7 separate regions of the Homo sapiens genome follow, and all the other regions are linked to region 2. The links are contacts of gene promoters, found by promoter capture Hi-C in blood cells and fetal thymus (Javierre and others, 2016). All regions are on one chromosome and are shown on one strand. Each heading gives the region's core, a stretch centred on a gene start or on the middle of the fragment in contact. The rest is flanking DNA. Distances are from core to core; before and after follow the strand shown.

Region 1 (3,599 bases), core at 804-3,303, 1.5 Mb after region 2:
GCAAATAAGTTTTAATAGAAGCTCAATTGTTTTCTAATATGCATAGATAATAAATAAAAAACTGGTTTAAAAGATCCATATGTCCTTAAAGGTTTCTAAGTGCTTGAACGTTTGGAGACACAGGCACACACATGCATACACAAATATACAGGTCATTGACAATAATTTTTATTTTTGTTTTTGGTATTGTATAAAAGATTAGGAAAAGCAAAAATCTAATAAGGATGATTTATCAAAAAGCAGTATGTACTCTAATCATGAGAGAAAAAAGAAAAAAATCTTAACCAGGGATACTATAGGGAAAACTATAATTTTAAGACAACTGTGGTTTAGCTGTTGAAGTACTAGAAGAAGGCAGTGGCATCTTGCAAAATACTAACTCATTTCTGGGGACCACAACACCACATGATGTTTCAAAAGCATATAAAAAGATTTCATATTAATATGGTATAAGAGATTATTCTAAGTAATACTAACAAAATAAAAATATCATACATGATTCACAAGGTATAACATATATTGAGTACTATTTTTAATTGGAAAGGATCTTGTTATATCTAATAGCCCCAAGATTTTGTGTACTAATAGTGAGCAGGTGCCTATCTCAAACTATAATGGAGTATTATAGAACTACAAAAGATGACTGGAATAATTAAGAACAACAATCAGAAAACATAATGAAATAAAGTATTTTATTTGCTATAGCATGAAATACTTGGAATAAAACTGTACCAATTAGGTTTCTTGGTTACTGGCAATATAAACTAACCCTGACCATCTTAAGCAGGAAAGGAGACAGATTACCTCATGGTCAGTGGGAGGGCTGGAGAACTAGCAGGGAAAGCAGGAAAAACAAAGGAACATAGGTAGCTCAAATACTGCCAAGTTCACATTGTGTGAACAGCTATTTCAGGATGCAGCCACTGGTATTTCTATGACTGGGGACAGCTGTGCAACTACCTCAGCTACAAATAATTTCTAAATATTACTCTCTCTCTTTGGACCACTTCTTCAGGGTGCAAATCTTGGGGAGATTATCCCATTGGCTTATCCTAAGGCATGTACATGTACGCAAATAAGAAGGAAGTTCACGTGCTACGTGGCCAAAATCCAAAACTGAAACAAACGTAATACCCAATAAATGTTTCCCACAGACCTTTGGTTGCTGAGTGCCAACGTGCATCCTTCTTATACTTGCATTTTCAAATAACTTCCTTTTAACATAATGCAACAATCCCACATATAATCAAAAAAAGTGTCACCCTTCTTTCCCAATTGGAGACTTCTTAAAGTCTTTTCTTTTATTGCATTTTGTTCCAAGTACAGAAGGAATCTCTGCATAATGGCCATTTGTTCTCATGTTTATGTTGTGATACTGTCCTGATATAGACTAAATTTCAGTTACTAAACTCAAATGCTTTACAGAAACCAGAGAGCATATGACAGCTGTAATGTGATATGGAAGTATCTGTGATTTTTCCTGGTGACAGAATCAAAGGTAATGCTACTATTGTGCTTTTTTGCTTATCAGCATCCACAAGAGATAGTCAAAAGGAAAGACTTGATACAGGGAGCTAATTATGAAGGGAGAGCAAACAGGGGATGGTGAGGCCACCTAGAGGATAGCAACAACTGAACAGCTGAAAGCAGCTGCTACCTCTATGGCTGAAAGAACAAAGGGAAGACACAGTGCTACAAAAGCCCAAGAGCTGCAACCTCCTGACAGGAGCTGGGTCCGGTAATGGGGGCTGCTCATCAGGACATGGGACCACGGGTAGCTTGGGGACCTGTTAAGTGGCAGCTGGAACCAATCGCGGATGCAGCTACTAGTGGAGGGGAGAGGGGAGAAATTCTGTAGCTTCTCTTCCCCCCAGTCTCCTGTCTCCTGACAGGACCTTGCCTTGGTAGGAGAAAATGTAGTTTGTACAGGGTGAGAAATGCATCTCAGAGCTAACCTGCAAATGACTGGCATTCACCAGGAAGCCCTGGGGCTAAACTCCAGATTCCTGGAACTGGTCATAAGGCCACTTCTCATATTAGAACTTTCTTCTTTGGATGCTCTCTCCTTTCACGTAGGGGAAGCAAATTTAAATTCTTTCTTCTGTGTCCTCCTTGCTTGCCGCCTGCCCTGCAGTTGGTTGGATTCTTTATCTGGTGTGGTGATGCAAGTCATCATTCCTGAGAGGCCAGGCCATGGTGGGCCTGCGGTCAGGAGCTTCACGAGGCCTCCATTAACTCTTACCATTGGATGTGTGAAGCACTATCCCAAGGCAGGCTTCTCACTGTGTGTGTGCATGTGTGCCTGTTAATGTATGCATGTCATGGACCTCTATAGCAGTCTAGGGAAGCTAGTGGGAACCCTCCTCAGAATAATGTTTTTAAATTCATACAGTAAAATACCTAAGATTATAAAACAAATCCACCTTTTTGAAATACAATTAATAAATTATAACAAATGTTTTGTCATGAAGGAAACAGTATAGTCCTTTCATAATGTATTTAAATAGCAAAATCTAGCAGCAGGTATAATAACTACAGCAGTTTCACATTGAGGGGGCACAAGCATATTTTAATACAGTATATAACAACTGTCATTTGATAAAAAGGGATCTGATTTCTCTTGGTGACAAAGTTGCAGGTGCTGATAATACAACTGTGATTTTATGCTGATTTTCATAGTTAAGAATACATTAAGTTTCTGTTGGAGTTCACAGAAAGATGTAGTTTTTTTTTCCTCATCCATATTCACAGCTTCTTTGACTGAGAGGGTTACCTGGGTTTTACCAGAACACTTTTTCACCTGCTGGCTAATTCTCTCACCTTCAGTGTTTTTTCAATTCCACCCTTCTCCTTCTCCCTGAGGCCTATCTTGTCCTATCCTGTACACTCTATTTACTTCTAACCTTCCTCTGTGTGGTAAGGTTTTTTAAGAAATGCTGTCTTAAACCCAGTCTGGGGCCCTGGTTGGAGGCTAGTCATTTCCCTGGACTCTCACATTCCAGGCCACCACACTCCTGTCCTAATTGCCCTGGGACAGGCACCAGACAACTAGGGACACACCTTGGAGCCCTCAGAATTATTCCAATTAGCCAATCTACAGAGAGCCCTCAAAACCTAACTAACCCCACCTGACTTGCCACACAAAAGCCCTTTCCAAGGGAAACCTCCGTGTGGCCCTGTGGCAGTCTTCTCCCATTTGAAGCTGTAAGTAACAAAAAGTTCTGCCATTCATCTATCCAAGTGAGTTGTCTCCTTCCATCCAAAAATATCTTGAATTCTTATAAAAACACCTTGATCCCCTCCCAGGGATTTCTTCTCTTTTTCTTCTCAGCATTTTTGTTTTTGTTTTTCCATAGCACTTATAATCTACCTTCTCACAAATCACTAGACTGTCTCCCCACCTCACTGAAATGTAAGGTCCGTGAAGGCAGGATTTTGTCATTTTTGTTTTCTGCTGCATCCTAAGCACTTGGAACAGTGCCTGCCCATAGGAGGCTCTCTTTATTGAATGAATAAATGAATGCATGACTCTCCTCTCTGTGCCTATTGTGATCAGTCACTCGGGGCAACACCTTCAAGCCCCTTCATACCTGTTTGTG
Region 2 (3,936 bases), core at 992-3,491:
CTAATTCTTTACAAAAGCAGGGCATGCTTCCCCCTGCTGGGAAAAAATCAAATTACAAGGTACATCAGAACATGTTCCTAAGTATTATATCAAGAAATCAAGTTCCTAGGAAAGATAAAATGTTAAGGAACCAAGTGCATTCTCTGACTGTTTTACCAGCCACAGAAATACTTATGCACTCTGTTAAGAGTTTCTTGTATGCATTTATTTAGCTTGGCCGTCTTCAAGTACAATAACTCATATTAATGACTGATGAATTAATCTTTGAGCCACTTGTCTCAAATAGAACTCCAATTAGCGGGTCAGAGAGAATGATCAATTTGTAACTTTTTTTTCACTTTAAAGACATATTATAAGCTACATAAAGAAAATTCTGGAAAATATATTGAAGACTATTCAAAATATATTAAAGATACTGAAGACTGGTAAGACTTGCCTTTTAAATCATTTCAAACAATCTTAAACATCTATTAACACATTATTTTGCTATTATTTTTATGTAGTTGTCTTTTTTGGGAAAGTAAAAAAAGTTCGTTTTTATTGACTTTACTTTTCCACTTTAATTTATATTTTTTTTCATTCAGTAACCAAGAAAGTAGTAGGCATAATTGTATTTCACCTTCCCACTTATCTATAAAACTAGCTTTTTCCCTGAAAACAGTTTAGTTATTTCACATGTTCCATGTTTTGAATATAAATCTTTTCCTAATTGTTTAGTATTTAAACATAGAAAAATACCTTACACTTCATTGTTAATATAAATAACAATTCATAAATTAAAAAATATAGCTAATGCCTATTTAAATCATATATTGAGGAGCAGAATTTATTCTTCCTTGGTACAACTAAGTCTCAAAAAAATCTTTTAATACTGAGGAGCTTGGGTAGAGGAAGTTATCCGTTTTAGTTTTTTGCTGTATGTAAGTCCATAACAAACTTAGCTACAAAACTGCATTGTAACCAATTTGATGATGAAGCAATTCATTATTAATGAAGCATTCATCTAAAAAAAATCTGCAGATGTTTTAAAAAGGCATGGGTAAGTAACTACAGATACCATAGGTGTCTTTAGTATTTAGATGGCATTATTATAACATAAATGGAGTAATTCGGTTAATAAAGTTCATGTGTCTTTTTTCAAAAAAAAACCTTTCAAAGCAATGCAAAAAACAAGACATATGTGTTCCTCTAGGAATGAAATCCCCTTTAACATTACAGGTACACAAAAGAAAATGCACACTTGGTAAAACAGTTGATCAATTATAGAGTGTTCCCAGGGACCAATATCTCACAGAGTACCCAATCATCACACTTCAAATAAATGTATAAGCACTTTAGCCTTTACTTACCACATTAACATACATATAAGAACATGCATAGTTTAATGCATAGGTTAATTCTAACACTTTCCATAGGATAGACTTTGATTAAAGGGTATCAAAAATCACTTCCTAAATGCAGCAAAAAATAAAAATAAAAATACCGATCTGTAGCTACGAAGCTCTTAGAACACTACATTGATCACCATTTACTTCCAAACTGCTTTCCCTTCCCTCTGCGAAGTGAAAATGTCCCTGTAGACCGCGTTACATACACTTTATGGTTTCTCTATCAATGATCCTAACAGGTCACATCGCCACTGCCATTAGATCTCCGTAGCTTTGGTCTTCTCCAAATTAAGACGTGGAGAAGGAGCACTGCTGTCCGCCCCAAGAACGGGGTCTGTCCGCCCGAGCTCTAAGGCGAGCATCTTCAGGGGGACAGTTTCTGCGAAGGCGGGGAGAGGAGTCCCTCCCCAACTTCACTCCCCTAATCAAGCCGCGGGTGAGATAGGCAGCCGGCGGTTTGTGCCCATCTGTGGGGGCAAGTCCTACCTTCTGCCAAAAGGCGCGACGCATGCACAAAAGATGGATCCAGGCTATCTTTCTCTGCCATCAGCTCAGGCAAATATTTCTCCTCTTCCATAGCGCGGACTTCGGATTGTCCCCGGGCGAAGCGCGAGGTTCCGCTCGCTCGGACGCAGGCAGGGTCTTGGGGCAGCGCCTGGCTCCCGCGCTGCTCCTCCTCCGCGCGGCGAGGGATCTCTGTGCGTCCTCACTGGCCCATGCACCCAGCACCTGCGACTCCCGCCGTCGGGCTGCGTGGCCCCGCGCCCACACCTGCCCGTCCCTTCCGTCGTCCCTCGCTCGCGCAGAGCCCCGGCTCACACCAGCGGCCTTAACTGGAGAGGCGGGAACAGGACGCGGCCCACCTCCGCCAACCACTCATTGGTGGTGGTGCCAGGAGAGGCGGGGCGCTGGCAGAAGGCCGCGGGCTCTCATTGGGCGGTAGCGCAAGTCGGGTGGCCTGACTGGCAGGAGGCAGCTGCAGAGGGGAAGGGAGCTCGGAAGATGCAAACGCTTTCTTCTTGCGCCCAAGCCTTCCCTGGCTATTAGGCATGCCCAGTTTTGTGGAGTTCTCTGTGTCTTCAGCTAAGGCGCAGAGGAGAGAGAGCGCGGGAAAAGCGCAGGTTAAAGAGAGAGGTCTGAGTACAAGTGGACAGGGGAGATGGAGATGAGAAGTGAGCCACCCGAGAGGGTGGAAAAGCGCCAGGGAAAGTCTCAGGAAGGTAGATGGGACTTCACCTGCGTCCCTAAGGCACAGGTGTCTCCTTTCCCTCACACAGCTCAGGCGCACTCCAGTTGTGCAGGAATCAGCAGCGCACTGGGTCTGGAAATACAATGAAGACTGCATGTGATCGGCAGCTGGTATTTCCGATGACCTACATCTCAGGGACGCAGTAGGATGTTCATTGATAAACAAATAAAGCGGCTCGAAGAAATATTGTGCAGAGACATGATTGAGGTGTACAATCATTAGGATATTGAATTAGTTCTGGTAACCTATCCGTGCCTCCTTTCCCCAGACCCTATCTGTGGAAGGGAGGTTGGGAGGGGCTGAATTTAAAAACCAAAAACAATATGATTCATTAGTCACAGTTTGTGAAAGAATTGGGAAGACATGTAGAAGAAAGAAGAGACTAGAAAATAGGTAACCACGTTTGCTCTAATTTTCCCCTTTCTCCTAGTTTTAGATGTGCCAGTCTCTTTCACCAGGTACTGTTGCTGAGCTACTTTGTATTATCCCACCTCTATTTAAAGGAAAGTTAAACCCTCATGATATCACCAAGCGTGGAGGCAAAGCCCATCCTTCTTTTACCAATGCGGCTATAAAATGTAACTTGCATGCCTCAATCGCTAGGAAACAATCTTTCCCCAAGTCTTGGGTTCTCGTTTCATAAGTAGTCATTTCCTGATTCTTCTCTCCCCCATTATTTTTGGTGTGGAAGAATGAGGGCCAACTTTGCTACAAATAAAATGTGCTGAAATTTTTCCAACTTATCTTACTGTATTTAAATATTTTCCTTTTAATTTTTAGATAAATTCGGGAGATTAACTTTTATTTGTATAATGTTTAAATAACGTAACGTGCCTCACATTGATTATTTCAATACGTCCTCACAGAAGCACTCTGAAAAATGCCAGCCAAGTATTACTTTCTCTGTTTGTATAAATATGGAAACTGAGGCAAAACAGAGAAATCGTCTCATGTCTAGTTAATGCTGAAGTTGAGATTAAAATTCAATTCTATATTAGCACCATTTATATCCAGAATATACTGCTTCAACCTACCTTTCTGTGTGTTATATATTTAATTTATTTGTGCATGTGTGCATTCAACAAATGTTTATTGGATACTGAAAAGAGTCTAGGGACAGTACTTAAAATTGGAGAAACATTGGTGAATAAGATACATACACATTCATTCCTTGTCATCACAAAGATGTTTTCTAATGGGAGAAGATAAATAAAACCAAGTATACAAGAGGAATGGTAATTGTTGACTGCAATAAAGGTCAAGAATGAACCAAGGAGTTAAGAAAGAGAATACAAGGGA
Region 3 (3,885 bases), core at 1,336-3,835, 1.3 Mb after region 2:
TTAGGTATTGTTGTATCATAAGTTAAAAAGCAGGAAACAGGGAGAGAAGAGACTGAAGAGTTGGCAAGGACCAATCCTAAAGGGCCTTGATTACATTAAGAAGTTTGGATTTTATTTTTATTTTTATTTTTCGAGATGGAGTCTCACTTTGTCACCAAGGCTGGAGTGCAGTGGTGTGATCTTGGCTCACTGCAACCGCCACCTCCTGGGTTCAAGCAATTCTCCTGTCTCAGCCTCCTGAGTAGCTGGGATCACAGGCACGCACCACCATGCTTGGCTAAGTTTTGTATTTTTAGTAGAGACAAGGTTTTCCCATGTTGGCCAGGCTGGTCTCAAACTCTTGACCTCAGGTGATCTACCTGCCTCAGCCTCCCAAAGTGCTGGGATCACAGGCGTGAGCCACCGCGCCCCCCCTGGATTTTATTCTTTATATTTTGGAGAACTATGAAAAGATTTCAAGTAGGGAGGTAATATTGTCACTGAGGGACAACATCACAGATAGTTTCTTTGTTAAAAGAATTTTGATTATTTTCATGGCTGCAACATGTTCAATTCAGATAATGAATCATTTGTAGTTCCTGAAACACACCAAGCTCTCTGGTACTTCTTTGACCTTGAGGACATCCCTTTTGTCAGAAATGCCCCCATACCCACTCCAGGCCAGATAAAACACGAATATGGGTCTTTTGCATCAACTGCTGTCACACCAGGCTGAATCCTAATTATCTACTGCCACTCTTCTGAGTTCTTTGAGGGCAGGAACAATACCATTTATTTCTGAAACCTATTGGGGTGCATAACGGAATAAATGAATAAACAAATGAGCAAATGAAGTGTGTTGGCAGGGAGAGTAATGCAGAGGAGCTTAGAGAGATAAGGTCACAAAGACGGTTAATCACAGAGTTAGTTAAAAATCTGATGCCTCAGGTCTCTCTCTGCTCTTTTCCTGTGCCTTAACGTTGCTGAAGTTTACAAAGGTGCTTTATAGCTTGTGCAGTCCTGATGCACGGAAAAGCTTTATTTTATTGTTTGACCCAGCCTTCCTAGGCACCACCCCCTGAACAGAGGTAAGCTATGGAAATTTTAACCTCCCGGTGGGGCTTGCACTTCTTTTCACCCACTGTTTACTGCTGAAAGCCTGAGTAGCTATGGGCCATCTTTCCGGAGAAACTAGGAAAAAAAATGTGTGGAAGGCAGCAAGCCCACGATGTAAGAAAAAGTGTTGTAACTTAAGCCTCCAAGTTCAATGATGATCTCGGTAAAATGAGTTTGAGTTATTTTGTTTTTTGTCTCTGTCACTCTGATGCCCGGGCTGGAATGCAGTGGTGCCATCTCGGGTCACTGCAACCTCCACCTCCCAGGTTCAAGCCATTCTCCTGCCTCAGCCTCCAGAGTAGCTAGGATTACATGGGACTGCCACCATGCCTGGCTAATTTTTGTATTTTTAGTAGAGACGGCGTTTCACTATGTTGGCCAGGCTGGTCTCAAACTCCTGACCTCAGGTGATCCACCCGCCTTGGCCTCTCAAAGTGCTGGGATTACAGGCGTGAGCCACCGCACCCGGCTGAGTTTGAGATCTTTTGACCCCACTGTTTTGATTCTGTGTTTAAGCATACAAACATTTAAATCTATTCTAAATTAACACGAAAGTACATGTCTACAAAGTGTTTGCCAGAAAAAACTTCATTAAATAAATTTAATATTTTTATTGACTTTCTGCTCATAGGGGTTAATTCTTCCAATTTTTTTTTTCCATATTTAGTTTACTGATTACTGTAGGGACCAATGTTTCAGTGATGACAAGCATTTTTCATATCAAAATTGACTTTTGTGTCTACATTGTTTACTGTCTTCCATGGTCTTAATCTCTGCCAGGCTCAGTTTTCTTGGGTCAATGTTTTGCAAGATCCAAATTTTATCACTTTTCCTTCTTTGATAATTTTTTAGTTAAATACAAATACACTGTCAGTTTTAGTCATTATCAATTACTCTGTCTTGTTTTCCTACCAAATTTAATTTTCCCAAGTTAATTTGGAGTTTTCAATGTTACTGATACAATCTGATCTTCCAATAAGTCCTGTGTGCAGTTATAGCTGTTGCCAGTATTATTATGCTGGTTCTTTCTTCTACTAACCTTTCTATGAATTGGGTATAAGATAAACAGTTCGTGTTTACATCTGGAAGCAAAAAGCAAAGACCATTAGTGGACAAATGTGAATCTGGGCACTTGGCTGGTTCAAAATAACAGAATCAAAACATCATGCCTATGGCAAGCTTGTTGACTTTTTAAGGATCAGAAATCTTTGCTTTGTAAATGTGACAGTCTTATGATTCTTACATTTTCTTTTAATCTCCATTTTGTTTTATCTTAAATTTATTAAAACTTCTCTGAGAAGGTAAGTTTTCCTCAGCCCTTCTAAGGGATTTTCCAGCTAGTGGTCTCCGTCATCAAGTTCTACTCTGTTGAATTCCTTCGGGGTTGGATTTTGTTTATAACAATAATTTTACTTTTTCTGAACGCCCTTTTAAAACGTCACACTGAGATCCACCAGAAGAGTAAGAATAACATTAGGCTTGTTTTTATAATTCATCCCAGACATCCCAAGTGAGAATTAAAAAAAAAAATTACTCATTTCTATTTTCCTTTCTCAAAAACACATTACAAAAAGATTGTAAAACAAAGTCTTGAGGGATTGATTAGTCAAGACAGGGGGTGAAACTCTTAAGAATCCAGTGGAATCAGGACAACCCAAACTTCCTTTGTAGAAGAGCATTTGCTATTAAGAGTGCTTAAAATATCAGAAGACTAGAGAGAGGAAAGAACAGATCTTCACCACATGCCTGTGACTTATTCTTCCACCCTGCACTAATCTTACAATGTGGGCTGCGGTTGGTCTAAAGCTTAAATCAACAAGTACTGTAAAGGTTTTAGAACAGTGCAGACCACACAGTAAGGTGCTCAGCAGGTACTGGCTGAATACTGTAATAGTCCCTGTAGATAAAAGCCACAAACCCTGTCCCTAAGTAGCTCCTTTTGGTTGGAGTGACTGACAAGCAACAATTACTTCACAGCGCTTATTAAGGGCTGAGATAGGGGTTAGCTCAAGTGTCTGTGGAAGCAGACCAGTGGGTCTCAAACTTTTTTTGTCTCTGGACCTCTACACAATATTTGTTACCACAAATAATGTATTTATGAAAAGCATATTTTCCAAATTAATAAAAGGGTGATATCTAAAATTTCTGCAGATTTCCTCAATGTCTGGCTTAATAGAAGATGGCTGGATTCTCTTATCTGTTTCTGCATTGAATCAGCTGCTATATGCTGTTTTGGTTGAAGGGTGGGAAGAAAATTTGGCCTTAGACACATGCTCCTGGCAAAGGAATGGAGGCTCTACTGAAAGGTCTTGGCGACCCCTCAGGGAAACCTGGGACCACATTCTGAAGACTGCTTACTGGATACCAAGAATGTTTCTTGGAGGTAGCAATTTGAGTCCTGAGGTAGATCAGCCATGTAGGGTGAGGGTAACGGAGGTAGTTAATGGTAAGGCTGCTGTGCCGAGCCAGCACAGATATTTGGGCAGAGGGCTCATCTACTCCATCCTATTCTACCATTCTTGAACTCACAGTCAATTAATAAAAAGTACCTGGGGTTGGGGAGCTGCGCATCAATATTATATTAACTGTGAAGCCTTAGTGCTTACTACGGTCGAGAAAAAGCGCTCCTCTGATTCGCCCCTCCCGGCGGCGCGGAGGTGTGAGCTAGAAGCCCGCAGGCGGTGCCGCGTCCTCCGAAGACAGGGAGGGGCGCGGCAACGCCGGGAAGCGCTGCAGCCCGGGGCCCCACGGAGGCGCGGCGCTCGAGGCCCTAAAGCGCGCAGGCGCGGC
Region 4 (3,874 bases), core at 340-2,839, 1.3 Mb after region 2:
TCCTCCCACCTCAACCTCCGAGGGAGCTACAACTACAGGAATGCACCATCATGCCCAGATAATTTTTTTTTTTTTGTAGAGACAGGGTCTGACTGTGTTGCCCAGGCGGTATCTGTCACATCTTAATACACACACTAAGCTCCTACAGAAGTAAATACTATATTAAGCGGCAGAGTTACTAATGTGAATACACATTCTCATTTGATTTGGAGACTACCTAGACAACTTTCAGGTTTATATTTAAATTGATTACAATTAGACATGAAAAAGGGACAGAGAATGGGCATAATAGAGATCGATTCAAGAGAATTGTTTCTTAAAATAGACTTTAAAAAAAAAAGTTGTTCAAAACTGCCTTAATCAATTTTACAGAGAAAATATTACCTCAAATGGTTTGATATGATGACTTGATAAGATGTTACTTCTGATCCAGCAGGATTCATTTATTAATATAAATATTTACATCTGTAGTACCCTCCTAGGTGGGTGACTGTTTCTATATGTCTGACTCAACAAAACACAGTAGCCCACAGGCAGCTATTGGCCTTTGGACTTTGTCCTTAGGCCAGATTCCTTAAAAGGCTTGTTGTGACAAGCTTATTTGCTCATTGGAAATTTCTGTGTCTAAATTTCCCACAGAAATTAGGATGTAGCTCTGCTACAGCATTTTGATTATTCATCAAAACTTACTCAAAAGACTTTTGATAAATCTTTAAATCAATGTCTTAAGGAAGAAAATTAAGTCACTTTTTAATATAGAGCATGTTTTAGTTTTGAACAATATTTAAGCACTGCAAATTATATGTTCATAGAGATTTAAGCATAGGCATACCTTGGAGATATTGCAAGTTCAGCTCCAGACCACCACAATAAAACAGGTATTACAATAAAGGAAGCCACATGCATTTTTTGGTTTCCCATTTACACTACATTGTTGTCTGTTAAATGTGCATAGCACTATGTCTAAAAAATGTACATACCTGTTTTGTCCCACTGAACCCATAGCTGGAGTTGCCTTAAAAGCAGCAGCAGGAGAATTCGTACAACAGAGTACCCCAAACCATTTGAAGACAGGGCTGGTTTGAGATTTCAAAGAAAGCAGCTCTAAATGCCAGAGTGATCAGTCCAAAACATTTATTAAAGGAACTTGCAGGGTGTTGCAATGTATTATTGTGATGGACAGCAAGAGAAAAGGGATGTTTTACCCACATTAGTCTGTAGCCAGGGGGTGAGGGGATGGAGTTTACATGAAAATTTAAGGAATTCGGCTCAGGGTCGGGGTCAGTTTCTTTCCAGTAAACCAAGACATTATTATCAGTGCCTGGGAATGTTCAAGCTGGTTTGGGTTCAAGCCAGCTGAGGAAAACCTATGGCTACAGCTGGCTGGGTCACTGTGATTTTGGTCAAGACACAGAAAGGAAGTGGGGAAAACGGGTACCCTAGAATACCTTAATTTAAAAATACTTTTGCTAAAAAATGCTAACAGTCATCTGAGCCTTCAGCAAGTCATAATCTTTGCTGTTGGAGAATCCTGCCTCAGTGATGATGGCAGCTGACTGATCAGGGAGGTAGTTGCTGAAGGTTAAGGTGGCTGTGGCAATTTCTTGAAATAAGACAATGGAGTTTGCTGCATTGATGACTCCACAAAAAATTTCTCTGTAGCAGGCAGTGCTGTTTGATAGTATTTTACACACAAGAGAACTCCTTTCAAAGTTGCAATCAGTCCTCTTAAAACTCACCCACTGCTTTATCAGCTAAGTTTATGTGATATTCTAAATCCTTTATCATTTCAACAATGCTTACGGCATCTTCACCAGCAGTAGATTCTATCTCAAGAAACCACTCTCTTTTCTCCTTCATAAGAAGCAACTCCTCATTCATTCAAGTTTGATCATAAAATTGCAGCGATTTAGTCAACTCTTCAGACTCTGTTTCTAACTCCAATTGTCTTGCTATTTTCACCATATTTGTAGTGATTTCCTCCACTGAAGTCTTGAACGCCCTCAAGGTCATCCATGAGAGTTGGAGTTAACTTCTTTCAAACTCCTGTTCATGCTGATACTTTTACCTCCTCTCATGAATGTTCTTAATGGCATCTAGAATCCTTTCCAGAATGTTTTTGGTTTACTTTGCTTAGATCCATCAGAGGAATCACCATCTACAGCAATTTATAACCTTATGAAATGTACTTGTTAAATATTAAAACCTGAAAGTCAAAATTATTCCTTGATCCATGGGTTGCAGAATGGATGCTGTGTTAGAAGGCATGAAAACAATATTACTCTCCTTGTACATCTCCATCAGAGCATTTCAGTGACCATGTGCATTGTCAAGGAGCAATAGTATTTTTAAATAAATCACGTTTTATCAGTAGGTCTCAACAGTGGACTTAAAATATTTAGTGAGCCATGCTAAACAGATGTGCTGTCAACCAGGTTTTGTTCTTCCACTTATAGAGCACAGCAGAGTAGATTTAGCATAATTTTTAAGGGTCCTAGGATTTTCAGAATGGTAAATGAACATCTGCTTCAACTTAAAGTCACCAGCCACATCAGCCCCTAACAAGAGAACTGCCTGTCCTTCGAAGCTTTGAAGCCAAGCATTGACTTCTATAGCTATGAAAGTCTTGGACAGCATCTTCTTCCAGTATAAGACTGTTTTGTCTACATTGAAAATCTGTTATTTAGTGTAGCCACCTTCATCAATGTTCTTGGCTAAATCTTCTCAATAACTTGCTGCAGCTTCTCCATCAGCACTTACTGCTTCACCTTTCATTTTTATGTTAGGGAGAGGGCTTCTACTCTTAAACCTCATGAATCCACCTCTGCTATCTTCAGACTTTTCTTCTACAACTTCCTCACCTCTCTCAGCCTTCATAAAAATGAAGAGAGTTAAGGCCTTGCTCTGAATTAGGCTTTGACTTAAGAGAATGCTGTGGCTGGTTTTCTATCCAGAACTCTAAAACTTTCTCCTTATCAACAATGAGGCTGTTTCACTTTCTTATCATTCCTGTGTTCACTGGAGTGGCACTTTTAACTTCCTTCAAGAGCTTTTCCTTGGCATTCACAACTTGACTGTTTTGGGTATGAGGCCTAGTTTTCGGCCTATCTCTGCTTTCAACTTGCCTTACTCAGCTTAATCATTTTTAGCTTTGATTTAAAGTGAGAGATGAATGACTCTTCCTTTCACTTGAACACTCAGAGGCCACTGTAGGGTTATTAATTGGCCTAATTTCAGTATTGCTGTGTCTCACTGAGGGACTGGCCCATCAGCGGAGCAGTCAGAATATATTCAACATTTATCAAATAAGTTTGCCATCTTAAATGGGTACAGTTTGTGGTGGCCCAAAACAATTCCAATAACAATATCAAAGATCACTGTTCACAAATTGCCATAACAAATGCAATAATAATTTAAAAGTTTGAAATATTGGGAGAATTACCAAGATGTAACACAGAGACATGAAATGAGCACATGCTATTGGAAAAATGGCTCTGATAGACTTGCTCGACAAAAAGCTGTCACAAACCATCATTTTGTTAAAAAAAAAAAACAATATTTGCAAAGCACAATAAATGAAGGTATGCCTGTATACTACATATTTATTTTTAATAATCATATAAGAAAATTAATTGGATATAAAATAGGCTGTTCTAAAACAGCAAGAGGGAAATAAACTTTAACAATGCTGACAGCAGCCATGGCATACTTGAATTTTTAGGACTCTTGTTAAATATGGGTATGGGAACTTACCCTCTGCACTAGTATCCAGACACTTACTAGATTATGGCCCATTGGGGTATTTGCCTCTATTACATATATTTGCTAGACTGTCATTATACCTTGCAATCTAGTGTCTTTTTCTAGGTTGATA
Region 5 (4,074 bases), core at 1,208-3,707, 1.1 Mb after region 2:
AGGAACCAGAGTCTTACAATAAAAAGGGCTTAAAATAACACAAATTTATGATAGCACAGCTTCTGTAGATGAGATGTACTAACGACGTGATTGAGTTCTGTGCTCAAGTTATCATAAGACTGAAATCAAGGTGTTGGGTAGGCTGAGTCCTTCTACGGAGACTGGGAACAATCCACTTCTCAACGCATTCTGGTGGCATTTAGGGATAAGCTGGTTTATCCAGGCCAGCTTCACAGAAGATGAATATAGTTCCATTTCAGTTATTAGAGACCTACCCAAAGATTTAGAAGAATGTTTGATTATTTGAAAGCATTTTAAAACTATTCATTCAACAAGGAAAAGTTGAAAAAGAGTTCAGTACCTATCATGTAAATTATTAAGGTTGGTGCAGAAGTAATTAGCAAAAACCGCAAATACTTTTGCACCAACCTAATAATTAACTCATGAGGAATGGTAAAAGTGAGTAAGCTTTTTAGTTAAGAAAACTGGATTTATAGAGTTATTCTAGCTGTGTTCTATTCAATTATTACCTTGATTTCTTTCATTCTTTCTTTGGTTATAATATGAAAGCAATTACTATATTAATTATTTCACAGGGTTGTTAGTAGGACCAAATTTATTAAAATATACAAAGGACTTCACAAACTGGAAAATATTTTACAGATTTGTAATTATAATTATTACTGGATCTAGTCATAGTTATTTGTCTGCAAACCATAAATTATCTCAGTGCATTCAAATTAACCTGGTTGTGAAGATTTAAAATTTTTTACTTTATTTCCAGTTTTAATAAACAGCATACTGAAAATAGTGCCACAGGCACATCATAAAACTAACTACAAAGTAAACAGTTCAGGCCAGGGGTGGTGGCTCACGCCTATAATCCCAGCACTTTGGGAGGCCAAGGTGGGTGGATCACCTGAGGTCAGAAGTTCCAGACCAGCCTGGCCAACATGGTGAAACGCTCTCTCTACTAAAAATACAAAAATTAGCTGGACATGGCAGCGCACACCTGTAATCTCAGCTATTCAGGAGGCTGAGGCAAGAGAATCACTTGAACCTGTGGGGCAGAGGTTACGGTGAGCTGAGATGGTGCCACTTCACTCCAGCCTGGGCCACAGAGCCATCTAAAAAAAAAAAAACAAACAAACAAAAACGAGTTCAGACGACCAATTGGTAAGTAAAACAATTGGTTTTTTATCCTAATAAAAAAGAATTTGCCATTCAATCACTAACATCCAAAACTATTTACAGTGCTATATTCTGAATATTTGTGTCTCTTCCACCCAAATTCATATGTGGAAATGTTAACCCCCAAGGTTAACATAAGAGGTGGGTCCTTTGAGAGGCGATTAGGTTATCAGAATGGAACCCTCACAAATGGGATTAGTGTCTTTATAAAAGAGACCCCAGAAAGATCCCTTCCCATTTCTACCATGTGAGGTTACTGTGAGAAAACCCTGTCTGTGAGGAAGCAGACCCTCACCAGACACCAAAGCTACCAGTGTCTTGTTCTGGGACTTCTCAAACTTCAGAACTGTGAGAAATACATTTCTGATATTTATCTGCCACCCAGTTTATGGTGCTTTCTAATAGCAGCCTGAAAAGATTAAGACAAAAGGAAGGAAAAAAAGCAGATATTTGCTTTATAAATATCTCTGTGTGTGTGTGTGTATGTGTGTCTGTGTGTGTCTGTGTGTGTGAGAGAGAGAGAGAGAGGAAGAGAGAGAGAGAGAGAGACAGAGAAAGAGAGACAGAAACAGAGACAGAGTCTCACTCTGCCACCTAGGCTGGAGTGTAGTGGTGCGATTTCAGCTCACTGCAACCTCTGCCTCCCAGGTTCAAGTGATTCTTGTGCCTCAGCTTCAAGCAGCTGGGATTACAGGTGCCCGCCACCATGCCAGGCTAATTTTTTGTATTTTTAGTAGAGACGGGGTCTTCCTATGTTGGCCACTCTGGTCTCGAATTCCTAGCCTCAAGTGAACCACCCACCTCGGCCTCCCAAAGGGCTAAGATTACAGATATGAGCCTCCACACTCAGCCTAAATATCTTAAATATGAATGTCAAAATAAAACTAACAGCAATCTAATGATCTTGACCACTTTGATTTACATGGAGACTAATAATTTTTTAAATGATGTTTCAATGACATATACTGTATAGTCTTTTTAAACCTGAGACTGATTTACTGTTTCAATATATCAGAGAACATTTAAAGAAAATTGTGTCATTGCCTCAGGATTTTCCAATGTATAAAGAAAGAATTTCTTGTAATGACCTCGTAGATATGGTACTTAAGAGTAAGTAACAAATAGACAAATAATTTTAAAACAAGAAATGGTTGAGACAGAAATGACCTTCCTGGAAAATAAATGCAATTAGAAAAAAGACTATTGTTACATGAAATGAATTATATGAAGGATGTTTCTAGGCAAACAGTAGGTGGCAACATCTACACAGACTTGTTTTAGAAATGCTTGTATAACATCAAAACAAAACTTACAAGCTAATGATTCATGAAATAGGGAATTTTCCAAAACTCACATGTTAGTAGAGATATTTATGCGCAAATCCATTGTTTTGTATTCTTTCTATTTTGGAATGTCATGCTTATGCCTTATCACAAGGACTCCACTAAGATCAATAATCTTAAAAATGTTTTGTTTGGCCAGGTGTAGTGACTAACGCCTAGAATCCCAGCACTTTGGGAGGCTGAGGCAGGATTGCTTGAACCAAGAATTTCGGGACCAGCTCTGGCAATATAGAGAGTCTCCATCTCTACAAAAAATACGAAAATTCACCAGGTGTGGTGGTACATGCCTGTGGTCCCAGCTACTTAAGAGGCTGAGGCGGGAAGATTGCTTGAACCTGGGACATCAAGGCTTCACTGAGCCATGATCACACCACCGCACTCCAGTCTGTCTCTCTCTCTCTCTCTTCCTCTCTCTCTCTCTCACACACACACAGACACACACACACACACACACACAGACACACAGTTTTATTTGTGGGTTATGTTAGAGACTGTTCATCTGTCTCTCAAACAAAGGGATAGAATTTTGTTCCCCTCACATTTCTTGGCCAGATTAGGTGGTTGAATTAGATAAGAGTAAGGATTAAGGGAACCATGCAAACAGCTGGATTTTTTTTTAATGCCACAATATGACCTCAATTACTGGAGTTCACAGAAGTTGCAGAAGACACATCCGGTGGTCAAGAAAAGGGGAAGCTGCCTTAAGTTTCCTTTTCTCTTGTGAGCGCAACAACCTCCATCTGTCTTTCTCTGTAACGCTGAAGACAGACACGTGACCCTGGTTCTCACAGAAGAACTTTCAAATCTAAAAAGCCATTTTAGGAAATAATTGGAAAAGTCTCTGTAGCCTTTGAGCTCCAGGATATTTGTTTTCCAGAATGATGAGATTGGTTATTGAATGTTTTAATGGTTGGAAACCAGAGAGTAGCTTTAGAGGCAAGCAGAGGCGCTGCTTTTTAACAGCAGAGGTCAGTAACACCAAAGGGGAAGGAAATTGAGCAGTCTGGCCAGAAATTGCAGATTTCTGTTGCAGACCCAACAGGCAAGAGGCAATAGGCAACATCCTGAGACACACAGGAAAACCTGATCCTTAGTACCTAACAGGGTCTCCTGTGCAGAAAATGTTCCCATCCCTGGCAACAGTGCCTTCCTGGATATGCTCACAGATGTTTAAGACTCTCCCTACCAGAGAAATAGCTTCTATCACAGAGTATTTTGTAGGGAACCATAACAGAACGTAAGGTGAAGTTTTCTACTATACTCTTATAATTATTGAAATTTTTCCTACTTCATTAATACCTGGACTTAGATTTCTCTTTTAGAAAGAAGCAGTTTGTAGCAAAAAAAAAAAAAAAAAAAGAAAAAATAATGTTTTTCACAGAAATTGAAAAAACAATCTCAAAATTTGCATGAAACCAAAAAAGAGCCTGAGTAGCCAAAGCAGTCCTCAGCAAAAAGAACAAAGCTGCAGACATCACACCACCTGACTTCAAAATATATTACAAGGTTATAGTAACCAAAGCATCATTACAGTGATACA
Region 6 (4,003 bases), core at 685-3,184, 1.5 Mb after region 2:
GGAGAAACTGTGCAAGTCAGCTTGACCTGAAGGAAAAAGAGAGAAACATAACAAGGAGAGAAAATTGTCAGAACTGTGCGGCAACCCTGAGTGCCTTATGGTAATCATTATGAAATTCTCATGAGAAAAAAAACATGCCCATGAAGTAACTGTAATTAGAAGTGGTCTAATTAGTTCCACCTTGAAGGATGGCCTGGACAAGAGTAGCTAGTGGTTCAAGCCATGGATTCATTAATGAAACCCTCAAAGGAAGCATAAAACTCATTTATTAAAGATGTAATTCAAGTCTGTGCTTTGGAGAGACTTTCGAGGCACACCCGTCCTGCTGTTTCTCCTACTGATTCTCACTAATCATTGTGTGTTGTAAGTTATGAAGTGGTACATGCTTGTGTTCTCACTTGATGTGCTTAGGGCGTACCCCAGAAATTAGAACTACTTGTCTGGAAGTGGCAGAAGCTCACTCTCAAGTTCTTTACATAAGGGTTCACAATGGTTTAGAAGCTGTTCCTCGGATTGTTCTGAAGGGGCATATTGGGACTCTAAAACATTTATATAGACAGTGCTGTGAGATCCATGTGTATTTCAGCATATTCCAGTTAATGCAAAGGTTAATATTGTGACTTTTAACATCATAGAAACATGGTAATCCTCATTCAGATGATCCAACAGTCTTTTAATTCCAATAGATTAAATTTCCTAAAGTATTTCATTTAGAAGGAAAGACTTAATAGTAAAGGAATAATAGTTGTAATTTGTTATTTCTTCAAACTATTATTCTAATATGGTAAAATAGTATCATTTATTAAATTTAATTTATTCCTCTAAATATGATAATGTACTTTGCAGAGTTCAGCAAAGTCCCAAGTAGTACAAGGACATGAGCGTGTAATCTTGGACATTTTGCTAATTTAAGTTTTGGCTGCTCACTTCCAGTTATCTCACTCTTTTGAAAAAACTGGTAAAGATAACACCTCATAGGATTGTCTCTAGGAATAACTTCAAGTGTTTTAAAAGATATTTCCAAATGGATTAAGAAATTCTAAGTGACAAGTAAATTTTCCTTCTCCCTTCTTCCTTTCCTGTCAAGGCTGAAAGAGAAAATGTAAGAGGAGCCACAACGATGGTGCTGTGGTTCTCCCACCAAATGAATATTGCTTACAGAATGGCGCTTGATTACTGGTGGGAGTTCCCATCTGGAGGAATGTTTTGTGAAGATATTTTTGCAGCCATATTTGATTATAGTTCTAGGGCTTGTAATGCCTTTTGATTTCTGAAAGAAGGAAACGATCTTTTGATTAAATATTCTTAATATAACAAAATAATGATTCTGCGACAGAGACACCCAGATGAACCTAATTGAGTTTCAGTTGTCTTTTCAACTGGCTATGAGAGGGTATATTCAGTTTTTAGGAAGAAAGTGAAATTAGATATGAATGAAAAGTTAAATAAGTGTGAAAGGTCTTAGGAAAATTATAGAAGTTTATGCAATTAGAATCAAAACTAAAGTAAAACAAAAAATATATATCTAGGTCGATACGTGAGAAACAAGACCCAAACGAGTGAAAGTCCTTACTGCCGGAACAAGATGTATCGAGTGATATAGGATTCTAGACATTTGAGCCATTTTTATCCCATATTCAGTTACAGTCTCTACTTTAGGGGATGCTAAACTAAAATTAAGATGACTAAAGATTTTGGATTAACTCTTAAAGAGCATATAGTCTCTTTTTATCTTAGACCTGTATAGCTCCTGTTCATAGTGGCAAACTTTTGGCTTCCTGTTCTGTTGATGGGACTATTCAGTTATGGATATTCTAGGGTTTTGAGAGCATTAGAACCATGTACAGCCATGACCATGATGTTTCATCATTAGCCATTGAGCACAATGGATACAATATAGTGTCTACCTCATGGGATTAAAACCATTAAAATGTAGGCAATGTAGACTGGCTCTTTTTGTGGCCAAATTAATATGGTGTCCTGACTTCCATCTGTGCTAGTGAACAGACAGTGTGGAAGGGTTGATAGGAACAACAAATCCAGTGCTATGCTCAGAGAATATGAAAATGTGATAAAATGCATTTCTTGGGGCTACATATGGCCCACATTTTTATATCTCTTGAGCAAAAGGAGGTGAGACTAGAAAAAGTGGCAAATCTGTATCTCTCTTGCTGTCAGAGATGAGACTGTGAAAATAAGGGATGTAAGCACCAGTTTGTGGGTAAACTTAAATTTCCACAAGATGAAACCACATGGGCTTACTGCAAGTATAGTGTTCCCCTGTGAAATCAAGGTTACCCACTTTGAACCATCCTTAAGTGTATATTCCCTCTTCAGAAATACATTTGAAAAAAAGATGGGGGAAGATTTGCAAGTATCTGTATATCTTTGTCATTTCTAACCCTGTTTGAATACTAGTCACATGTGACAATTTTTATGTGTTTCTCAGTCAGTCGGGAAAGTGAATAGCTTAACTTCTTTTTAAACTATTTTAAAAGACTCAAATAATTTAAAACAGACAATTTTGACATTATAGTACAGGATATTTGATTCCATGAAAACCAAGATTTGATAATTTGAGGTTCTCAGGAAGAAAATTCTCATGATTTCTAGTCTTCCTGGTGTGATTACAGAATAAAATAATGAGCATTTTTCTGTTATAAAAAATTGAATATAGGCATACACTGTCAGTTTTGTTTATAAAATACCTCAGTGCTGTGCAATTGAACTATGTGTTACATTAGGGAATTGGCCATAGCCTGCTCTCATTCATCAGGCATCTTCCTTCTGCCTGATCCCTACCAGGGCTCTCTGAAGAACAGGCTGAGCTGATTGCTTCTGTGACACTCCCTGCTTCAATTTTCTTTTTCTGTTCTGTAGGGTGACATTCATTTCATTTTTTTTCCACAGGAAAATAATCAAGCTATATTTATGCACTCTTATTTCTGTTACAGTTTATAACTAAGGGCTTGAAGCAAACAAGAAATTATTTGGCAGAAAATATGAGGCAACCTTTCATAATTACCACAGCATAGAAGATCTACATGCTGGTGACTGACAGCTATGTGCATAAAGTGCTTAGGTGCATAGATCAAATTTCCAGGAAGTCAAATATATTTCTTCTAAAATATATATATATATGTATATGTGTATATATATATATGTATATGTGTGTATATATATATATATATATATATATATATATATAATTTTTTTTTTTGAGACAGTTTCACTCTTGTCACCCAGCTGGAGTGCAATGGCACGATCTCAGCTTACCACAACCTCCGCCTCCCGGGTTCAAGTGATTCTCCTGCCTCAGCCTCCTGAGTAGCTGGGATTACAGGTGCCTGCCACCACACCCAGCTAATTTTTGTATTATTAGTAGAGACAGGGTCTTGCCATGTTGGCCAGGGTGGTCTTGAACTCCTGACCTCGGGTGATCCACCCGCCTTGGCCTCCCAAAGTGCTGGGATTACAGACATGAGCCACCGTGCCCGGCTCCTAAATTTTTTTTATTACTGTATTATATAATTTTAATACAAACTACAGTTGAGATTTTAACTTATATTTCAATGATTCAAACAGTGCTACATGTTTCCCCTCCCCCTTCATTTAGATCAGATCCTAACTTCTTCACTACAATCCGAATCAATCAATGCCTACACAGCATTATTAGCTAACTAGGATAGCCTCTGTCCACAGAGAGACTTTCAGTTAGTGAAATAATAAATAAACATGTAATTATTGATTTTTCACCAACTATCCAGCACAGGAATGATGCAGCTGGGAATCCAAAAGAAATGGAAAGAATTTATGATTAATCTTGTTGAGGGACAAGATTAAGATTATGAAATTGCTGCTATTCTAATGCTTTGATTTATGAAAATGGTACCTTCATATAATTCAAAGCAGTGATTGTAAATGACAAAACAGTATTTAATTAGATACCAAATTATAGGATAAAACCACAAGTGCTATGTAGGCTTTGTGTAGGTAGAATATA
Region 7 (3,557 bases), core at 457-2,956, 1.6 Mb after region 2:
TAATCCCTAAAAAACACTAAGAAAATAATACAAAATAATATAAAAAATCCAAAAGGGAATTCAAATAGTATGCTAAAAATATTGACTGTAGAATAAGGCATAAAAATGGCAATAGAGCAAGAGTTTACTGAAAGAGGGGCATGGGCGGTAACAGTATATGAATAAAGATGTAGGTTGCTTATGGAGGTTTGTTGGAAGTTCTCTTCTGATTATGTATACCAGGGTAATTGGCTAAGCATGAAGTAGGGGAGAAGGTGCTAGGTGTTAGAGAAGAAAGGAGAAGTACTAAATGTCACCTAGGAGAAGGAAAGAGTGAATAGCTTTGGGAAATTTAAGATTTTGGAGGTGCACTAAGGATCCATCAGAAGTTGGTAATTATGAATTTAATGCGCAACCAGTTGTCACAGTCATATATTTTTTGCCAGACTAGGTCAGCTTTACAGGTGTAGGTGCAGTGGAGGAGAAAGAAACACAGATTTGAGGTTATATGGAAGAATGAACATATTGATCAAATATGGAATCTAAGCTGGGAGTGGAATCTGAGCTCATGAGGAAGAAAAAATATCCTTCACGCTAATACATGTGAGGGGTAGGAAGGTCATCAAGCTGGAGATTCAGGGAGTTGAGAAACAATGTGAGCAAAAGCATAGAGTAGAAATAAACACAATATGTAAAGGAAAGGAATGAGTTAGACCTGACTGATGTGATAGGTATGGAAAGGGAAATTTGTAAGAATAAAATTGGTTAGGGAATATAGACTGAAATGGCACTTAGGTACTTAACTTCATTGTTTCTCTAGTTTATCTATCTAATAATCTTTGGTGGCAATGAGGCCTAACCTGAACCTATGTCAAATGGAATACTCTTCCCTTGCTACCCCTGCCTTGTGAAAGCACTTCTCCTTCCCTTTACCCTAGTCCCCCTACCCCGCTACACTTATAACTTTCTCATAACTTACCAATTTATGGTTTCTTTTCTACCCCTAGGATGTAAGCTCCATGAAAGCAGGGATGTTTTGTCTGTTTTATTCAGTCTATAGAACAGGACCCTGGATGTAGTCTTCCCCAATAGATATTGATGGAACGCAGACAGGAGGTATCCTCTTGTGCAGAAATAGCTATCAGGTGAGGCAGATTAGAAAATGGACATGGTCAATGACTCCAATTTAGTCTCACTGTGTGAGAAGGACACACAAAAGACTGTAGGTAGAATCTAAGATGTTCTGAAAAGGTGAAATTATACAAACATCTTTATTTATAACCCTCGATTTTGTCCTTTTCTACATATAGCCCTCCTCCTGCCAAAAGCTTACTTTAAGGCAAAGATAACTAGCGTTGCTCCAGTCTTATCCACTGTTTATTTTTCTATAGCTTTTCTCATGTAGTGTCTTAAATATATGAAGAGTTCCATTTGTAATCATGGCAGCCAGAAGTGGGCCTGCGAGGCTCAGCTCTCTTTTCTGCTTGGCTGGGGCCCTGTGTCTCAACTGTCCTTGCTTCATGCTCTTGGAGTAGTAAAGGATGTGCAGCTTGTGTTTCCTCTGAATGACTCCTTGACCCGAGTTGTTTCCAGTAACTCAGTCTGATACATTTATTTCTCATATTCATCTTAATACATTCTTACTTTGACTTACCCAACCTTTTTTTTTCTATCTTCACACTATAGTGACCCTTGTTATGACTTAGCAACTGATGATATAGCAATGTATCCATGCCCGATAGCTCCCAAGATTAGCAGTTTAAGCATAGGTTAGGGTTCAATATACCTGGAAGCATGCACACTCAACCTGGGAAAGCAGTGTCAGGCCTTCGGCTCCTCATCCTGGATAATAGGGGAAGTCTTTCAAAATTGATTCAATGCTGTAGAAAATGGTGACCTTCCAAATCACCTCTGGGAAGATGAGCAAGTATTAACTGGGAACTTAGGCCAGATAATGGGACTCTCCTCTCTGCAGTTCTTGGGGAAGGAACTGAGAGGTGTCTGTCATGAAGCCATGGAAAGACGAGCCTCAGGGCCCTTCACTTGCATAAGTTTTGCCTGGAGAAGCAACAGGCATTTTGTATTTGCTATTCTGAATTATTTTTCTTAGAAGCCTCTCCAAATTGCAAAGCTTCAGGGACTGACAAGATCTAGATCTGGAAGAAATTTTTGTATGAGTCAAACCAGACAAATTAGAAAGGCCTCTTTTGCATCTGTGGTAAAATACACATACCATAAAATTCACTGTTTAAACCATTCTAAAGTGTATAGTTCAGTGGCATTTAGTACATTCACATTGTTGTGCAACTGTCACCACTATCTAGTTCTAGAATATTTTTATCACCCCAAAGGAAACACCATGCCCATTAAGCAGTCACTCGTCATTTCCTGCTGGCTCCTGTCCTCTGCGATCACTAATCTGCTTTCTGTTTCTATGGGTTTACCTAGTATGGATGTTTCATATAAATGGAATTCAACATGTGGCCTTTTGTGTCTGTGTCTGGCTTTTCTCACTTAGCATGTTTTCAAGGCTTCAAGGCTTATCCATGTCGTAGCATGTATCAGTACTTTGTTCCCTTTTATGTGGAAAGGCCTTTAAATAAAAGATCATTTTAGAGAGGATGTAGCCAGTTAAATAAGGGGATTTCTTTTTTTTTCTTTTTTTTTTTTTTTTTTGAGACGGAGTCTCGCTCTGTCACCCAGGCTGGAGTGCGGTGGCACAATCTCGGCTCGCTGCAAGCTCTGCCTCCCAGGTTCACGCCATTCTCCTGCCTCAGCCTCCTGAGTAGCTGGGATTACAGGCGCCCGCCACCACGCCCGGCTAATTTTTTGTATTTTTTAGTAGAGATGGGGTTTCACCATGTTAGCCAGGATGGTCTCCATCTCCTGACCTCGTGATCCACCCGCCTCTGCCTCCCAAAGTGCTGGGATTACAGGCGTAAGCCACCGCGCCTGGCCAAATAAGGGGATTTCAGGAGTAAAATTTAATAGAATGACTCAAATACTATCAGCGGCACATTTTATGGTACTGTATTGTGTTAAATTCTCTAACCCAGTGGACTAGAATTTGCCTGTCGATTTTGATCTTTACACTGATTCCAACCAAACGATCATGGCTAACCTGTAAGCTTTTCTTGACATATACCTATTCTGCTCAGAAATAATTTTGTGTCAGTTGTCTCTCCTACTCCTATCCCCGTTATGGCCTTTCTTGTCTGGGTCAGCATCCAGACTAAGCTGGATAATTGAAATTCCAGAAAAAAACATTTCTCCTGATTTTAGTGAGGACATTTGAAAATAACCTACGTGTTGCTCAATCCCTGAAGCTCATTTGAATGTCTGCTCTTATATTTAAAAAGCAATGTATGCCACCTGGAAGCAAAAAATAACTGTAGTTTGCTAATGTTGTCACTATGCTGCGTCAATCTCTAATTTGTTATAAAATGTAGGAAGATATTTCGAGTAAGAGGGTGTCTACCTCAATTCTTCAAAATTATACCCAGTTTTCCTTGTTATGAAGCATAATTACTTTACAAAGCTATAAAATGCCATAAAGTTTTAGTAATTCACTTAGCATT

What was found. Contacts are between HindIII fragments. The CHiCAGO score rates a contact against its expected background, and 5 or more counts as called.
Region 1: a contact is called between a fragment that was not itself captured here and the fragment with the promoter of KHDRBS2 in region 2, in 1 of 17 cell types (monocytes). The highest score is 9.8, in monocytes.
Region 3: a fragment that was not itself captured here is called in contact with the fragment with the promoter of KHDRBS2 in region 2 in 1 of 17 cell types (monocytes); the score reaches 6.1 in monocytes.
Region 4: a fragment that was not itself captured here is called in contact with the fragment with the promoter of KHDRBS2 in region 2 in 1 of 17 cell types (monocytes); the score reaches 7.5 in monocytes.
Region 5: a contact is called between a fragment that was not itself captured here and the fragment with the promoter of KHDRBS2 in region 2, in 1 of 17 cell types (monocytes). The highest score is 6.9, in monocytes.
Region 6: a fragment that was not itself captured here is called in contact with the fragment with the promoter of KHDRBS2 in region 2 in 1 of 17 cell types (monocytes); the score reaches 6.7 in monocytes.
Region 7: a fragment that was not itself captured here is called in contact with the fragment with the promoter of KHDRBS2 in region 2 in 1 of 17 cell types (monocytes); the score reaches 5.2 in monocytes.

What each region holds. Positions count from the first base shown.
Region 1 is chr6:63,815,673-63,819,271 of GRCh38, forward strand. All of the region lies in intron 36 of EYS (eyes shut homolog), which reads right to left. All of the region lies in intron 1 of SCAT8 (S-phase cancer associated transcript 8), which reads left to right. Among named protein-coding and RNA genes, the nearest start is that of SCAT8, 11 kb to the left of the region's middle. The HindIII fragment of the contact is 5,816 bases long and covers 1-3,599 here.
Region 2 is chr6:62,283,984-62,287,919 of GRCh38, forward strand. KHDRBS2 (KH RNA binding domain containing, signal transduction associated 2) reads right to left here and starts at 2,242. Exons shown (of 9, transcript NM_152688.4): 1 at 1,875-2,242. The coding sequence starts at 1,965. RefSeq lists a silencer at 2,102-2,191. The HindIII fragment of the contact is 7,395 bases long and covers 1-3,936 here.
Region 3 is chr6:63,631,883-63,635,767 of GRCh38, forward strand. No RefSeq gene overlaps it. Among named protein-coding and RNA genes, the nearest start is that of PHF3, 2.0 kb to the right of the region's middle. RefSeq lists enhancers at 2,608-3,145, 3,677-3,885 and a silencer at 3,715-3,885. The HindIII fragment of the contact is 627 bases long and covers 2,273-2,899 here.
Region 4 is chr6:63,565,118-63,568,991 of GRCh38, forward strand. It overlaps LOC124901228 (translation initiation factor IF-2-like), which reads right to left. Exons shown (of 2, transcript XM_047419610.1): 2 at 1,118-3,874. It also overlaps a transcript of LGSN not described here and a transcript of PTP4A1 not described here. Among named protein-coding and RNA genes, the nearest start is that of PTP4A1, 5.4 kb to the right of the region's middle. The HindIII fragment of the contact is 1,991 bases long and covers 595-2,585 here.
Region 5 is chr6:63,349,715-63,353,788 of GRCh38, forward strand. It overlaps a transcript of LGSN not described here. Among named protein-coding and RNA genes, the nearest start is that of LGSN, 32 kb to the left of the region's middle. RefSeq lists enhancers at 2,889-2,998, 3,069-3,338, 3,439-3,528. The HindIII fragment of the contact is 3,983 bases long and covers 467-4,074 here.
Region 6 is chr6:63,795,814-63,799,816 of GRCh38, forward strand. The region is part of intron 37 of EYS (eyes shut homolog); the gene reads right to left. It also overlaps the pseudogene LOC100422587. Among named protein-coding and RNA genes, the nearest start is that of SCAT8, 9.0 kb to the right of the region's middle. The HindIII fragment of the contact is 4,318 bases long and covers 1-4,003 here.
Region 7 is chr6:63,902,693-63,906,249 of GRCh38, forward strand. All of the region lies in intron 35 of EYS (eyes shut homolog), which reads right to left. Among named protein-coding and RNA genes, the nearest start is that of SCAT8, 98 kb to the left of the region's middle. The HindIII fragment of the contact is 803 bases long and covers 1,306-2,108 here.